Regions from separate parts of the Homo sapiens genome. Here regions 2, 3, 4 and 5 are each linked to region 1. Evidence: promoter capture Hi-C in 16 types of primary human blood cells and fetal thymus (Javierre and others, 2016). All regions are on one chromosome and are shown on one strand. Each heading gives the region's core, a stretch centred on a gene start or on the middle of the fragment in contact. The rest is flanking DNA. Distances are from core to core; before and after follow the strand shown.

The links. The method cuts DNA at HindIII sites, captures the fragments that hold promoters and counts their contacts. A CHiCAGO score of 5 or more calls a contact.
Region 2: a contact is called between a fragment that was not itself captured here and the fragment with the promoter of IWS1 in region 1, in 1 of 17 cell types (total B cells). The highest score is 8.6, in total B cells.
Region 3: a contact is called between a fragment that was not itself captured here and the fragment with the promoter of IWS1 in region 1, in 8 of 17 cell types (total B cells, naive B cells, endothelial precursors and 5 more). The highest score is 9.8, in total B cells.
Region 4: a contact is called between a fragment that was not itself captured here and the fragment with the promoter of IWS1 in region 1, in 1 of 17 cell types (neutrophils). The highest score is 5.0, in neutrophils.
Region 5: a contact is called between a fragment that was not itself captured here and the fragment with the promoter of IWS1 in region 1, in 1 of 17 cell types (naive B cells). The highest score is 5.4, in naive B cells.

Annotation. Positions count from the first base shown.
Region 1 is chr2:127,524,657-127,528,192 of GRCh38, reverse strand. It overlaps IWS1 (interacts with SUPT6H, CTD assembly factor 1), which reads left to right and starts at 1,704. Exons shown (of 14, transcript NM_017969.3): 1 at 1,704-2,018. The coding sequence starts at 1,985. RefSeq lists enhancers at 1,105-1,174, 1,415-1,464, 1,725-1,784, 2,315-2,374, 2,385-2,464 and 1 more and silencers at 1,210-1,383, 2,025-2,134. The HindIII fragment of the contact is 4,097 bases long and covers 1-2,218 here.
Region 2 is chr2:127,745,697-127,749,058 of GRCh38, reverse strand. The region is part of intron 7 of WDR33 (WD repeat domain 33); the gene reads left to right. Among named protein-coding and RNA genes, the nearest start is that of SFT2D3, 46 kb to the right of the region's middle. The HindIII fragment of the contact is 2,389 bases long and covers 489-2,877 here.
Region 3 is chr2:127,688,299-127,691,416 of GRCh38, reverse strand. No RefSeq gene overlaps it. Among named protein-coding and RNA genes, the nearest start is that of SFT2D3, 12 kb to the left of the region's middle. The HindIII fragment of the contact is 6,533 bases long and covers 1-3,118 here.
Region 4 is chr2:127,330,871-127,334,288 of GRCh38, reverse strand. The region is part of intron 5 of MAP3K2 (mitogen-activated protein kinase kinase kinase 2); the gene reads left to right. Among named protein-coding and RNA genes, the nearest start is that of ERCC3, 38 kb to the right of the region's middle. The HindIII fragment of the contact is 8,106 bases long and covers 1-3,418 here.
Region 5 is chr2:127,777,831-127,780,854 of GRCh38, reverse strand. The region is part of intron 1 of WDR33 (WD repeat domain 33); the gene reads left to right. Among named protein-coding and RNA genes, the nearest start is that of WDR33, 32 kb to the left of the region's middle. The HindIII fragment of the contact is 1,172 bases long and covers 994-2,165 here.

The sequences.
Region 1 (3,536 bases), core at 455-2,954:
TGTTTCTATCCTTTCTCCAAACCACCAGTACAGTTAGTTTTAACGCTAAAATTCAGTAATTTTCATCCGGCAATTGCATTGTTTATAACCCAACCACTTTCCTGACTGTTGGACTTACATCTCTGGTGAAACTAAAAGGTTCTCTTCCACTGAACCTCCGCCTGGAATTTTGATCTATTAATCCTGCTCCATTTACACAGGTGTACTCTCACCTTCTCTTTAGAAGAGGGCTTAGAGCCTTGATATCTTCTATCAAGTGATTCGGTTTCGGGCATTGCTAATTCTTTGTTCTTTTGATTCTCAAGACTGCCTGAGAAGATGTCATTCCCACAGCTGAAAAGAAGGAATTTGGATTCAATGCTGTTTCCACCACTTCGGAAAGGAATATCCATGAACTCTCTTGCAGGAAAATGGGAATTTCCAGAGAGAAACCACTTCTCCCCTTTCTTCTCTTCCCACGTCCTCTTCAGGAGCCTATAATTGGGCTCTGCCAGCATACTCTGACTGGCTAACGAAGGGTCAGATATCTGCAGTAGTAACAAAAGGCTCTTTTTCTACATGTCTACACCTCCTGGGGAGTCTTTGCTTAAACCTCTACTGGCCCTCCTCCGATCCAAAGGCAAGAATGTTCCCCTCTCTGTCCAAGACTAAAATGAACAAGTAAGGAAATGGATTTTACTCAGCCTATTGCAATAGGGAGAGCACTCCAGATATGATCAGTGTCTTGGCAGCGTAGTTTTGACTTTTATAGGGAGGAAGGTGGGATGATTGACAGTTGGGATTGTTTTGCAATCAGGAGAAGTTTCAGTCAGGTGAACAGGAAATGTTCTCTGTGTCTAACAAGTTGGGGGGAGGAGAGTTCTAATCTCAACTAATCACTCGATATCATCAGCGGGAATTTGGAAGGTCTGTTTGGCTTTATTAACAGGCTCAGAATAAAGGGGAAAGGTCTCTGGCCTTGTCACAGGCAAACAAGGGGGTCATCTGCACGCGTTTTATCTGAGTCACATGGAGACGGGTGGTTCTTTACAGTGTGCCGTTCCAGAAACACAAATAGATGAGGGGGTTTCTTAATCACCGCTGTTTTCCAGGAACACAGGGCTCAGGTAAAGTTCAACTTCACCTTCCTCCGGTGTTTCATCAGGGGAACCCTTCTGGAAGCAAAGACGTGTACTTCTTACTGTTGGCTAAATGGCTTCTTAACAAGGAAATTAAATCGTTGTTTAGAATGAAAGAGAGGAAGACGCCGGGAGAGGAGGCGCTGTGGATCGCGCCAGTTAGTAACGCATCACAGCTCGCGGGCGTCATACTACAAGTCCCAGTGAGCAACGCCCGCTTTCTTGCCTACTGCGGGCGGGAACCAGGCGCCTCTGGGCCTGACGGGAAAGACAGTGGTTTGGCTGAATGACGGAAAAGTCATTTGAGCAGGTCTTCATTTTTCGGAAGAGTATCTCAAAAGCTCTTCAAACAAGGCACGGACACAGAATCTAGGAAATGATAAAGAATCAATGATAACGTTATTACCACGGGGGTCAGACCAGGATCCACCCGAGGAAGGTATTTAACTAAAGCCCGAGTTCCAGCTCAATTTTCCCAGGAGTCTCCTTTCCGGCCGTGCCTGGCGTCATTGCTGTTGCGTCTTCTCATTGGCCGGTTGACGGGTTGCGGCGCCTGCGCGCTGCATTCCTTTGAGGGTCGTGGGCAGACGCCATTTTGGCCCCAGCGGTGCTTCTAGGAAGTAGAACGCCGGCTCGCATGCCTGCCCGCCCGCCAGCCTGCCGGGTACGGCCTTTTCCGCCGGGGCTTCCAGGTCAAAGAATTCGCCTTTGCCGCTACCGCTTTCTTACCCTCCGCACCCGTTAAGTTCTCCGGTCGGGCGGCAGTCTCTGAACACTTAGCCGCGCCATCCGGGGTCACACCGCCTGGAAGGAGGTGACGGGGGCGGCGCGGGGCGCGGACACTCCCCGCTGAGAGTCCGCCTGCCATGGACTCGGAATATTACAGCGGCGACCAGTCAGGTGGGGCAGGGACCTGGGGGACCGGGCTGGGAGGCGGAGCAGTTACTCGGCGGGGCTTGGCCTGGCACCCCGCGGGTGGGGGCAAGGAGGCCCCCCGAAACCTTCCCTCCCGCGACCCGGCCCGAGGAGGGCAAGAGCCCTCTGACCAGCTGCAAGCGTCGAAGCTAGAACGTTGGAGAGGGGATTCTGGTGGGAAAGCTTTCTTCTGAATCGGCGAAGGTTTTTGCTGAAATTGGGAAGTCACTTTCATATGTTAAGCTCCTATTGTGTGCAGGGAAGGAGAGGTGTCTTCTGTTAAGAGAGTTTTCAGTAGTTGAGTAGTTGGAGAATCCAAGGGGCGTTGGGGCGGGGGATCCTTCCTAGACTTTTCACTGCTAGTTAGGAGTGGTTTAATCTTGCTTGCAACACCGGACGTAAGTGCAGGACCCATGTTTCAGTTGCATGCATAGAGTAAGGAATGCGCTTCTGGCACTTACTGGTGGTTTTTGTGCCTTTCCTCCACCTTGAGATCGTTCCTCTTCCTCCTCACCGAAGTTTGGTCTCCTTTCTTTACTGTTTGTTTATTCTGTAAGCTGTTACTGGGGCCCACTCTGCTGGCACGGTGCTTGGCACCTGAGATTAAGGATAAGTGAGGCAGAACCTGGTGTGGGAAACACGTCGCATTTGCTTTCCCTTTGTGTGCTAGTCCTGTTGGGGCGTTCTGTTACAAAAGTTCTTAAATACACCATAAATAAATACACCCTCTATGTACCCACAAAAATTGAAAATTAAAAAGAAAACTTGAGTGCTTAAATAATTGTTTAAGCGTTAAGCCCTTTACTGTTTTGAGTTCATTGCTTTTCCTTACGTAGGACAGTGAATTCTAATGACTGCAAAGCGTTTTCCAGGCATGCACTGCTTAAAAACACTTTCCTAAGCCAGGTGCGGTGGATTATGCCTGTAATCCCAGCACTTTGGGAGGCGTAGGCGGCCGATGGCTTGAGCCCAGGAGTTCGAGACCAGCCTGGGCAACATAGTGAGACCAACACCACCCCCACCCCCCATGCCCGTACCCCACCCCCCTACGCCCCTACCCCACCCCCCTACTTCGTCTCTACAAAAAAATGCAAAAATTAGCCGAGTGTGGTGGCATACACCTGTAGTCCCAGTTACTCAGGAGGCTGAAGTGGGAGGATCCTTTGAGCCCTGAGCCCGGGAGGCAGAGGTTGCAGTGAGCGGAAGTTGCACCACTGCACTCCAAGCCTGGGCGACAGAGCAAGACTCTGTCTCAAAAAAAACAAAAACAAAAACAAAAACAAAAAAACACTTTCCTGATACTTTCAGAATAGTTTTTTTTCCATTCATTTGTGTTTTTAAGTTACTTTTTAAAAAGTAGACCGAGCACGGTGGCAAACACCTGAGGTCAGGAGTTTGAGACCAGCCTGGCCAACGTGGTGAAGCCCATCTCTACTAAAAATACAAAAAATTAGCCAGGCGTGGTGGCGGGCACCTGTAATCCCAGCTACTCAGGAGGCTGAG
Region 2 (3,362 bases), core at 434-2,933, 220 kb before region 1:
GCCACATTTTTGGTTTTGTACTTGTAGATATGATTAATACTTATAGAAATTTTAAAAATCTTTCATCAAAAGAGTGCATATGAAAATCTTGCTTTATTTTCTTCTCACAGCTAACATACTATCCAGATAATTCCAGTAGTTAAGGTGAGCACTTTTTTTTTTTTTTTTTTTTTTAAGTTTCAGCTACCTAGGAGGCCCTGTTAGGAGGATCACTTGAGCCCAGGAGATCGAGACAGTAATGAGCCATGCACCACTGCACCCAGGCCTGGGTGACAGAATGAGACCCTGTCTCAGGAAAAAAGATATTACTCACTTTCATGTTTTCCTTATAGCTTCAGCTTTATTGTTGATGAGCATTTTCCTGCATCCCTTGTTTAAAGTACCTCTAAATCTAGACATAACCCAGATACTTGGATGTGCTGCCGCCAATTGAAATGATCCTTGATTAACTCCTGCTTATTCTCTTGATCAATTTGGCTGTAAAAGCTTCTCCTCTGCTTTAACAGTTTTTAATGCTTTTTACTTTACCTGAGCCATTTAAAACATTTTACCATGGTCTTGACATTAAAAGCAAAACTGAAGAAATCTTACACCAGCATCATCCAAAGCTGCCCTCCCTGTGAATTATAGTTTTAGAGTCATTTTCTAAGCCTAGAACATTTAGTCTATTTTCATTTCACTGTTAGTATTTACAAGTGTGAATACCCTTCAGTTAAAGACCACTAGGAGTACACCTGTCATAGAGCAGGTTGGATTTATTGCTCATTGCAGCAAAGAACACAGACCGCAGGGAACCATGGGGTGTCCTAGTAACAGGGTGTTATAATGTATTATAGGATTTGGGCTTTGGATAATTTTGGGGGGAAGGTCTAAGGACATGAGGGCTTGCTCTAGATAGGGTGCTGTCGGAAAACAGAGGCAATTCTATGATTGGGTATCAACAGATCTTATAGAGGGGGTCAAGTAGATTGAGGTTAAAGCTGTAATTGGTGAAGAAATAGCTGTCACTCATTCAGCAAGAAAGAGAATTTTGTATTTTGTGGGTTGTACAGTGACCTAGTTTTTTCTCACTTTGCCATGGTCTTGGAGTGACTACTTTTGATATTGACGTTCAGTGAGATTGTCCAACAGGAGCGTGGAATGTTTAAGCTGTACATGTCAGAACAGTTTGTAGTAACACCAAGGCTTAGCTTGAACATCAGATTAGTTCTCAGAGGTCAGGGGCTGCTGCTTTTTACTTTCTTGAACATATTGAAATCCAGACAGACTTGAGGTCAGGATTTAGTAGCAGCGACATGCTCGGCAGGCACAGGTTGGAACCAGCTGAAATGATGCCAGCAGTATGTTTTTACAAAACGGAGCAATTGGGGAGAATTTGGTGGCATGTTAACCAGCATTAGACAAGCAGGATACATTATAGGCAAAAGCAGCCTCTTCAGATAGTACCACTAGTTTTGCCACTGGCGTATAGAATTTTCCCATAGAAATAGAGAATGTCATCATGTATCATCATTGAAATCTTCATAGTTGCTTTTATGCTAACGTTGAGTGCTCATGGGAACCTCAAAATCTTTAAATAAAGGTTTTAGATTGTAAAAGTTTTTACTTTTTTTTTTTTTTCGGTAGAGCAGCGGTAGCCCTAAAATATTGTTGATTTGGACCAAACTGAGGATAAAATGTTTTCAGAATAAGATTTTTCTCCTAAAGACTATTTCACACAGAAATATTTGTTCATTTTAGGTTTTAAACACTGTATGTTAAACTGTTGTTTGTATTTTATTTATTAGGTACAGTACATAATTTCGTATGGAAAAAACAGCATATTCCAGAGTTACCACAGATTTCAGGATTGGTAGATAAATACCATTTGTGCCTGTGTCTAAATTGTGTAGATGCCAGAATTAATTTTCATATAATTTAGACACATAGATTTGTGGTGTATTCTCTTGGTTAAAGTGCCTTGAAAATAAGGCTTTGTATTTTGAAACTAAATCTGTTTGGGCGAAACTCACTTTGGTGATCTCCACAAAATTCACTGGTTTTGATCATCTTCTATAATCGTATATTTACATTTTTTTAAATAACATCCATTTACCAGAATTGATGCTGAATAGTACCAGTTTACTGTGTCTTTTCATAGGCAATGATGAGTGCAAGTCTATTTGTAATAAGTATTTTTTCTATAAAAAGAAGGGTAACTATTGTGTATTGTTAACTTTAAAATGTAATGATAGAAGAATATAGTGTAATTACTGTTTACAGTGGTTAAGTGACAAAGAAGAAATTATTAATGTTGTTAAACCTCCTCTTTAGCTGCTCCAAAATTCTAGTTACAGTGGTAGTTTCTGCTTGGCACAATCTCCGTATTTCCTCTGGGGAACTTTAAACATCACTCAGCTGAGAGTCAGCAAGTTTGGCTTTGAATCCCCGCTTTGCCACTGGGCAAGTCAAGTCTTTCTCAGCTTGCCTCTCCTCGTCTGTAAAGGAGAGCTAATGATACCTACCTCACAGGGCTGTTGTGAGGACCACAGACATACTCTGCACAGTGCAGGATGAAGCAAATGTTTGTTGCTAAAGTCATAAATATCAAGGAAAGATGCTAAAAGACAAGATAGGAGTAAAGAAAATAACATATTTTACTTAATTTGATTTAAGAGGAGATTGGAATTGAGTAGGAAAGGTATTAAAAGAGAGGTATTAAAGGTATTAAGGAAAGGTATTTATGGGAGGAGATTATTGGATCAAAAATTAGTATTGGAATATGATTATCTTTTCAGTAGTGATTTTTAGGTTTAGAAGTGTGATTGATAAAGTTGTAAGCCACATTTAAATAGATAACATTATATTGAAATAGAACTATGACTTCTTTTTAAAGCTTTATTTATGTAAGTCCTCATATTTTATTTCCACTATCATCTCAGAACCACAGGAGTGCCAGAAGGCAATCCTTCACACCCTGCATTAGAGTTGTTCTCTTCATTGCCTTTGCTTGCTTACCTTTTTTTTTTTTTTTTTTTAATTATTTTATGTTTTAGAGACAGAGTCTCGCTCTGTCTCCCAGGCTGGCATGCAATGGTATGATCATAGTTCACTGCAACCTTGAACTCCAGGGCTCAAGTAATTCTCCTGCCTCAGCCTCCTGAGTAGCTGGGACTACAGGAGCTTGCCACCATGCCCAGCCACAGATTGTTTTTTGAATAGATAATATATTTGAATCTTTCTGGAGAACGACGTGCTGTTTTTTGAGTTCTAGTTAGGTAAATTCATGTTGGATGAGTGTAAGACATACCGAGTTACTCTACAGACTTGGAGCATTCTTTCCACTTGTACTTTTTGGTAGGTTTACAATATCTTGAAAAAAT
Region 3 (3,118 bases), core at 369-2,868, 160 kb before region 1:
GTAATATGGATAGTGAAGGCCAGGGTGAGGAGGTCTCAGATGGAAATAAGGAACTTAATGGGAACTGGAGCAAAGATAACCTTTGTTACATATTCGCAACAGAACCTGGTGGTGTTGTGCCCCTGCCCTAGGGATCTGTGGCACTCTGAACTTGAGAGTGATGATTTAGGGTATCTGGTGGAAGAAATTTTTAAGCTGCAAAGTGTTTACGGATTGGCCTGGCTGCTTCTAACAACCTACGCTCATATGTGTGAGCAAAGAAATGACCTGAACCTGGAACTTATATTTAAAAGGGAAGCAGAGTGTAAAAGTTTGGAAAATTTGTAGCCTGGCCATGTGGTAGAAAAGAAAAGCTAATTTTCGGGGGAGGAATTCAAGCAGGCTGCAGAAATTTGCATAAGTAAAGAGGAGCCCAAGTGCTAATAGCCAAGACAATGGGGAAAAGGTCTAGAAGGCATTTCAGAGACCTTCGTGGCAGCCCCTCCCAGCACAGGCCTGGATGCTTCAGAGGACTGAATGGTTTTCTAGGTCAGGCCCAGGGCCCTGCTGCCCTGCACAGCCTTGAGACTCTACTCCCTGCATCCCAGCTGCTCCAGCTCCAGCTGGCTGAAAGGGGCCCTGGCCACTGTTTCAGAGGGTGCAAGCCATTAAACTTGGCAACTTTCATGTGGTGTTAAGCCTGCAGGTGCACAGAATGCAAGAGTTTAGGCTTGGGAGCCTCTGCCTAAATTTCAGAGGATGTATGGAAATGCCTGGATGTTCAGGCAGAAACCTGCTGCAGGGGCAAAGCCCTCATACAGAACCTCTACTAAGGCAGTGTGGAAATGTGGGGTTGGAGCCCCCACACAGACTCCCCACTGGGGGACTACCTAGTGGAGCTGTGAGATGAGGACCTCTGTCTTCCAGACCTCAGAATGGTAGATCCACTGGCTGCTTGCATCCTGCACCTGGAAAAGCCACAGGCACTCAAGACCATCCCTTGAGAGCAGCCATGTGGGCTGAACCCTGCAAAGCCACAGGGGGAGAGCTTCCCAAGGCCTTGGGAGCCCAGCTCTCACACTAGTGTCCCCTGGATGTGGGGCATGGTGTCAAATGAGATTATTTTGGACCTTTAAGATTGAACGACTACCCTGCTGGGTTTTGAACTTGCATGGGGCCTGAAGCCCCTTTCTTTTGGCTGATTTCTCCCTTTTGGAATGGGAGTATTTAACCAATGACTGTACCCCCATTGGAAGTAACTAACTTGTTTTTGATTTTACAGGCTCATAGGTGGAAGGAACTTGCCTTGTCTCAGATGAGATTTTGGACTTTTGAGTTAATGCTGGAATAAGTTAACACTTTGTGAGACTGCATGATTATATTTTGAAATATCAGAAGGACATGAGATTTGGGAGGGGCCGGCGGCAAAATGATATGGTTTGTGTCCCCACCCAAATCTCGTGTTAAATTATAATTCCCAGTGTTAGAGGTGGGGCCTGGTGGGAGGTGACTGGATCATGGGGGCAGTTTCCAGTGGTTTAGCACCATCCTCCTTAGTCATAATAGTGAGTTCTCATAAAATCTGGTCATTTACAAGTCTGGGCCAGGCACAGTGACTCACACCTGTAATCCCAGCACTTTGGGGGGCTAAGGGGGGGCAGATCACCTGAGGCCAGGAGTTCAAGACCAGCCTGGCCAACATGGTGAAACCCTGTCTTTACTAAAAACACAAAAATTAGTTGAGTATGGTGGTGGGTGCCTGTAATCCCAGCTACTTGGAAGGCTGAGGCAGGAGAATTACTTGAACCTGGGAGGCAGAGGTTGCAGTGAGCAGAGATTGCACCACTGCACTCCAGCCTAGGCCAGAGTGAGACTCCAGCTCAAAAAAAAAAAAAAAAGTAGCACCTCCCTGCTCCTTCTCTTTTCCTTCTGCTCTGGCCATGTAAGATGTGCCTGTTTCTCCTTCACCTTCTGCCATGAGTATAAGTTTCCTAAGGCCTCCCCAGAAGCCAAGCAGATGCTGCCACACTTCCTGTACAGCCTGCAGAACTGTGAGCCAATTAAATCTCCTTTCTTTATAAATTACCCAGTCTCAGGTATTTCTTTATAGCAATGTAAAAATGGACTAATACACATAAGAATAATGGAGAGAAGTGAGAGAAAGGGACATAAAAATTATTAGAAGGCACAATGGCTGAAAATTTCCCCAAATTATTTGCTTATTTATTTAAAATTTATTAATATTATCATGTTTATAGAAAGAGTCTTGCTCTGTCACCCAGCCTGGAAGGCAGTGGCACAAGCATAGCTCACTCTAACTTTGACTCCCTGGGCTCAAGCATTCTTCCTGCCTCAACCTCCCAAGTAGCTAGGACTACAGGCATGCACCCCAATGCTCAGCTAATTTTCAAGTTTTTTGTAAAGACAGGGTCTTGCTGTATTTCCTAGGCTGGTCTTGAACTCCTAGCCTCAAATGATCATCCCACTTCAGCCTCCTAAAGTCCTGAGCTTACTCATCACCTAAAGGCAAGAGCCACTGTGCCTGACCAATTTCCCCAACTTTGATGAAAAACATTATTCTAAACATCTGAGAAACAATGAATTTCAAGTAGGATGAACACAAAGGCATTCACACTCAGACATATTATAGTCAAATTTTGAAAGCCAAAGATAAAGATAAAATCTTAAATGCAGCAAAAGGAATACAATTCATTGTGTACCAGTAGTACAATAATATTGACAAATGATGTCTCATCAGAAGCAATGGGGGCTAGAAAGCCGTGGTATGACATGTTCAAAGTGCTTAACAGTAAAAACAAAACAACAACAAAAAACCTGTTAACCAATAATTCCATACCCAACAAAACTATCTTTCAACAATAATGGCAAAATAAAAAGCACTCCAAAATAAATAAAATCTGACTGAATTTATTGCTACCAGTCCTGAGTAACAAGAAATATTTAAGGTTTTTCAGATAGAAAGCAAGTGACACCAGAAACTAATTTGAATCCACATGAAAAACAAAAGTGTTGGTAAAAGTAGATAATTACAATATAAAGTATAATTGCATATTTCTTCTTCTCCTCTTAACTGATCTAAAAAGTAATTGCATAAGAAAATATGCATGTAACTTTTTAT
Region 4 (3,418 bases), core at 569-3,068, 190 kb after region 1:
AGCCTAGTAGGTCTATCAAGAAAAATGAGGTTAGCATGACATGATTTGTCCATATTATACCTATGTCACCTCCTAAGAATTGCTGGTTTTTTTTTTAGTGACTTCTCCCAGTTTGCTATGTAATTTTTTTCTGGGGTTTTCTTGAGGATTGACATCAAGCTAACTGGTTTTTGTTTTTGTTTTTTGTGTGAGACGAGGTTTCACTCTGTCACCCAGGTTGGAATGCAGTGGCCCGATCTCACCTCACTGCAACCTTTGCCTCCCAGGACTCAAGCGATCTTCCCACGTCAGCCTCCTGAGTAGCTGGGACCACAGGCAGGCACCACTGCTCCCGGATAATTTTTGTATTTTTGGTAGAGGCGGGGTTTCACCATGTTGCCCAGACTGGTCTCAAACTCCTGAGCTCAGATGATCCACCTGCCTTGGCCTCCCAAAGTGCTGGGATTACAGGTATGAGCCACCGCGCCTGGCCTGATCTGTATTTTTAAGAACCTTTTCCCATTTTCTAAAAATTGGAAAACTGCTCCATTTTAGTTTATTTTTCTCATGCTTTCTGAAGGATTTCTGTGAGTGGTTCTACCATTATATTTTGGTGGCCTCTTGGCAGGAATGTGGTAGGGGTGGCATTAGGATAAGATTACATTTAAGATTTCTTGCAACCCTGAGATTCTGTGAGTGAACCGTATCCTGTTTCATATCTTGACATATTGTCCCAAACCAAATGCATGATCTTGGACACTGGGGGTACTAAAGAAAGTCTTACTAGTTTTGTGGACATGTGGTCAGGCAAAAAATTCATTTATACTGCATGTTATTCCACTTCTATAAATATTTTTCTAGTGTAATATTAATTCCTCTGTTCAAAATGAACTGTTACTCTATAAACTTCTAGTTGGCTAGAATTGAAACGTTAAGGAAATTTAAGCTGGAAATATAAGCTGAGGTTGTTTGGATTTGTTAGTTTGGCTTCTCTTTAATAAGGGGTGTGTGTGTGTGTGTGTGTGTGTGTGTTATGAGGGTTGGTTGTGGAGGTGTTCAGGGTGCATGTGTGTGTGTGTCATGGGGGTTGGATGTGGAGGTGTTCAAGCCAAGTAAGGATTTTCTAAGATCACTTCCATTTTAGATGAGTAGAGCAGGAATTTTTTTTTTTTTTTTTTGAGACAGCATCTCCCGCTGTCACCCAGGCTGTAGTACAGAGGCACAGTCATGGCTTACTGGAGCCTTGACCTCCCTGGCTCAATCAATCCTCTCCCCACTCAGCCTTCTAAGTAGCTGGGACTACAGGCATGCACTACCATACCTTGTTAATTTTTGTATTTTTTCTAGAGATGTGGTTTCACCATGTTGCCCAGGCTGGTCTCAAACTCCAGGGCTCAAGCGACCCGCATACCTCAGCCTCCCAAAGTGCTGAGATTACAGGTGTGAGCCACTGCGTCCAGCCTGGAGAACCTTTTAATGGCTGTCTTCATACTTCACTATGTAAATTCAGGAAGATAATTCAGTTCTTTCAGATTTCAGTTCTGTTTAATGGTTCTCGAACTCAATTTTAAGTTTCCTTTCTAGAAAGCATTTATATCAACAAACAACTGATTTATCAAAAATAAGCCAGAGGGTGATAGATTTCATGAATGAGACTGAAATGAATTCACCAAGCCAGAAAACATTATCTGATTTATTTAGTGTAATGTAGATAACCTGGGACTTGTTCATGACTCTTAGTCCTCATTTTACGGTTTGTAATAGGTAACCTTAGAACACAGGCAGGATCACATTAGGTCTGTAGGCAAGTGCCTAAGCTGCTGCACCAGGCACCCCTCCAGGATGTTCACATTTTACAGCAGCAAACTGAAGAGCAGCAGAATCATTTATGTTCATATTTTTTTCTGTCATTTGACTTAGTGTTGTTTTCCCCCAAAAGTAGCAGTATCTTGGAGAAGTAAACAATCCAGTTATAAATGAATAATAAAAGTAAGTATTCAGATTTTCCCCTCAAATGAAAAATCGGCGGAACAGTCATTACCATTGCTTTAAAATGTTTTCCAGTGCTTGAAAAGTAATAGACTATTGAAGATAGAAGCAAGATATACCAATATGTTTCATAATTGGTGGGAAATAGAAATGTGTTTAAGTAGATCAGTAGATCAGGCTTGTTCTATGATACCAAACAGTTAATAATTGTATTTTATTAGAAAAAAATTCTCATAGAGCGAAAAGAGCCCAGTTAGTCGGTCCCTTACAGTAATACAAAATTAGCTACAAACAGAAATTGGGAATATATTTTAACAACAGAGTAAGTAAATGCAAGCAGATTGTCTGATGGAATTCACATAAATCCTTCTTTATATTCGTGTTTGGCAGCCTTTCTTATAACAAGGACTTTTTTGGCTGGGCATGGTGGCTCACGCCTGTAATCCCAGCACTTTGGAAGGCCCAGGCGGGCAGATAATTTGAGGTCAGGAGTTTGAGACCAGCCTGGTCAACATGTTGAAACCCTGTCTCTGCTAAAAATACAAAAATTAGCCACGCGTGGTGGTGCATGCCTGTAAACCCAGCTACTGGGGAGGCTGAGGCAGGAGAATCACTTGAAACCAGGAGGCAGATTGCAGTGAGCTGAGATTGCCACTGTACTCCAGCCTGAATGACAGTGAGACTCCATTTCAAAACAAAAAATCAAAAACCCCAAGGACTTTTTTCACAAAGAAGTCTGCAGAATGAACATACACCATGCCAGCTAGTGGGTTTGGGTTCAGATTGAGCTTTTAACACTGTGAGATTTATTAGACAGCATTTACCAGGTTGTCTGCTCTTTGCTCATTGCTGGTGTAGGGGGTCCTTGTCTTCAAAGAATTTATACTGTAGAGACCCCAAATTAATTCAGCCTTGCATTTTAATGGCTCATATATTGTGCTGAGTAGAGCAGGTTAACTAGTGCAGAATATGTTCACTTGTTTTTATTCTGTTCCTCCTTCAATGAAATGGAATATACTTTGAAGTTATTGACAGAGTCTTCTTAAGTTACTAAATTGACTTTTTTTTTAAAAAAAGGACATATTTTTATTTCTTAAATTGTATGAATTACACTTTTTCTCATAGACCTCTTAGGTGCTTTTGTCCTCTATAACATCTGCTGCATGAGAAGACTAGTGAAAGCAGATTCCACATGCAGGGTTTACTATGGAATAGTTAACTCATTAGCTTATTTGTTTTAGGGTATAGTGGTCAGGTCACTAGGCTCAGAGAGAAGAACTCTAGGTGGGCTGTAGATTGCAGATATGTTACTAGTGGTACCCCTCCATGGCAGCTGTCCTCCATGGCAGGTGCTCAGGATGTTGGTATGTTGAAGAGCACACCAGCTGAGAGTGCAAATTTGTGGTTACTATTGAAAAAAGAACTGAGTTTCATCTATACAGAAGAAAAG
Region 5 (3,024 bases), core at 330-2,829, 250 kb before region 1:
TAATAAATTAATTATTTTGAGATAGGGTCTCATTCTGCTGCCCAGGCTGGAGTGCAGTGGTGTGATCATGGCTCACTGCAGTCTCAAACTCCTGGGCTCAAGGGATCCTCCTGCTTCAGCCTTTTGAGTAGACGGGACTGGAGGTGAAAGTTTACTTTTGAAGGAGGAGGGTCTCACTGTGTTGGCTGGTCTCCAAATCCTGGCCTCAAGTGATCCTCCCACCTTGGCCACCCAAAATGCTGGGGTTACAGTCATGAGCCTCTGTGCCTGGCCAAAACCTACTTATTTAAACAGCTTCATTGATTATTCTTTAACAGATTGAATGGTCTCCATGTAATTTCTCCTGATTTTTCAGGATTCATATTAATTAAAGTTGGACAATGAAGAGAAAGAGCATGTTGATCATTTTGTTACTGGTCTAGCCTGCCGCTCATGAAGATCCCCTCAAAGTTCAATGACAGATTGGGTATCAAATTTCTTTTAGAGTAGATTGATTATCTTAGAACCTAGTGGACTATACATAAATAATCTAAAACAGGTTTCCAGGCTGAGGTTTTGACCCTGGGGTCAGGAGTGTTAATGGAGGTGGGAATCTTAAAACTTTTTATTATTTTTACACTTTGGGAGGCCGAGGTGGGCGGATCACGAGGTCAGGAGATCGAGACCATCCTGGCTAACACGGTGAAACCCCGTCTCTACTAAAAGTACAAAAAATTAGCTGGGCGTGGTGGCGGGGGCCTGTATTCCCAGCTACTCGAGAGGCTGAGGCAGGAGAATGGCGTGAACCCGGGAGGCGGAGCTTGCAGTGAGCCGAGATCGCACCACTGCACTCTAGCCTGGGCGACAGAGCGAGACTCCGTCTCAAAAAAAAAAAAAAAATCAAAAAAACCTTTTTATTATTTTTAAAAGTCCTATATGAATTGCTAGCTAGTTAATGCATCAATAATTTGCTTTTGGTTAGAATTCTGTTATCTCAGTTTGGGAAAACAAGCTTTCTTGTTCTGATTGGAAGCTCTGATTAGTGGCTGACATGGTAGGAATTGTTGGATTTGATAATTGGATCAAATTCTGGTACCATAGCTACTGTGATCAGCCACAGTATTCATACTGGACAGATGCTATATGTGATCTTCTTTGGCTATGGATATGCAGTGGCAGCAGACATTAGGTGATAATAAACAGAAAATACACAGGAAGGGAATACCTCACAGTGTTACTAACAGCAAGCCCTTGGCTTTCAATTGACAGATTCCTAGGAAGAAAATACTTTGTAAATATTGTGACCCTGTATGCATACACACAAACACAATAGAAACAGTAGTTGCACAAAAACAGTTCTTTCAAATGCGCAGTTCTATCATATGTTCTATTTTTTTTAACTTTTTTTTTGAAACGGAGTCTCGCCCTGTTGCCCAGGCTAGAGTGCAGTGTCGTGATCTTGGCTCCCTGCAACCTCTGCCTCTGAGTTTCAAGCTATTCTCCTGCCCCAGCCTCCCAAGTAGCTGGGACTACAGGTGTGCGCCACCACACCTAGCTAATTTTTGTATGTAGTAGAGATGGGGTTTCACCATATTAGCCAGGCTCGTCTCGAACTCCTGACCTCAAGTGATCCATCTGCCTTGGCCTCCCAAAGTGCTAGGATTACAGGCATGAGCCACCACCCTGGCCCTATTTTTTTTTTTTTTAATTATTAAAATAATGCTGCTTGTCAGCCACATTGATTTCAGGAACCATCAATGGGATGTGATTTCTGGTTTAAAGAAAAAGCACCGCTTTAGGCTCATTCATGATATTTCATGTCAGCATTTTTTTGATGCCAGAGCCTCGCTCTACCCCCAGGAATCTTAGTTTAAAACTCTTTTTACTCATTTGTATGAAGCATTCAGTAAATTCATTTTGTATTGAAGCTGAGGAATTAGTTGAGTGCTAGCTAGGTCATTTTCCTATGTGTTTTAGTTGGAGATCTATTATGGTAAAATAATTCAAATGGTAGTCAGAAATTTGGTTGGTGAAAGATTATTTTGAATTATGTTTGGTTGGGGAAAAATTATGCTGGCCTTGGTATGCTGAGTGAATTAGAGAGCTTTATTTACTTTTTTTTCTCAAGTGTCTCTCCCCTGACACCCCCTGCCCTTGCCTCCCTCACTTTACTCAGAATTTAAGCTTCTTAAGGCTGATTGGTGCTGTAAGTTTCCTGTGCTATATCCCTTGTAATAGTGCCTCTCACACAGCGTAGTAGTGTCTCAGTGTAGTAGTAACTTCTCACATTGTTCTTTTGAGCTCTTCTGTACTGAGAAACGGTCAGACTCTTGAGAACAGAATGTGTGTGTGTGTGTGTGTTCATTGTCTGGCAGGTAGTCAGGGCTCATCAGTTTTTTTGTTTTTGTTTGTTTCTTTTTTCTTTTTTTTTTTTTTCTTGAGATGGAGTCTTGCTCTGTTGCCCAGGCTAGAGTTCAGTGGCATGATCTTGGCTCATTGCAGTCTTTGCTTCTTGGGGTCAAGCGATTCTCCTGCCTCAGTCCCCTGAGTAGCTGGGATTACAGGCGTCAGCCACCACGCCCAGCTAATTTTTGTATTTTTAGTAGAGATGGGGTTTTGCCATGTTGGCCAGGCTGGTCTCGAACTCCTGACCTCAGGTGATCCCACCCACCTCGGCCTCCCAAAGTGCTGGGATTACAGGCGTGAGCCACTGCACCCAGCCAATAATTTTTTAAAATTTTTTTGCAGAGATGGGGGTCTTGCTATTCTGCCTAGGCTTGTCTCCAACTCCTGGCCTCAAGAGATCCTCCTGCCTTGGCCTCTCAAAGTTTTGGGATTACAAGCATGAGCCACCACACCCGGCTCATTTTTAACTTTTATCTTCAGCTATAATTTCAGTATCATCACATGACTAAGATTATACAAGAAGTTATCTTGTGAGCATTTGGGACAAGAAGCAGAATTGACCAGGTGCAGTGGCTTATGCCTATAATCCCACCACTTTGAGAGGCTGAGGTGGGAGGATCGCTTGAGCTCAGGAGTTCT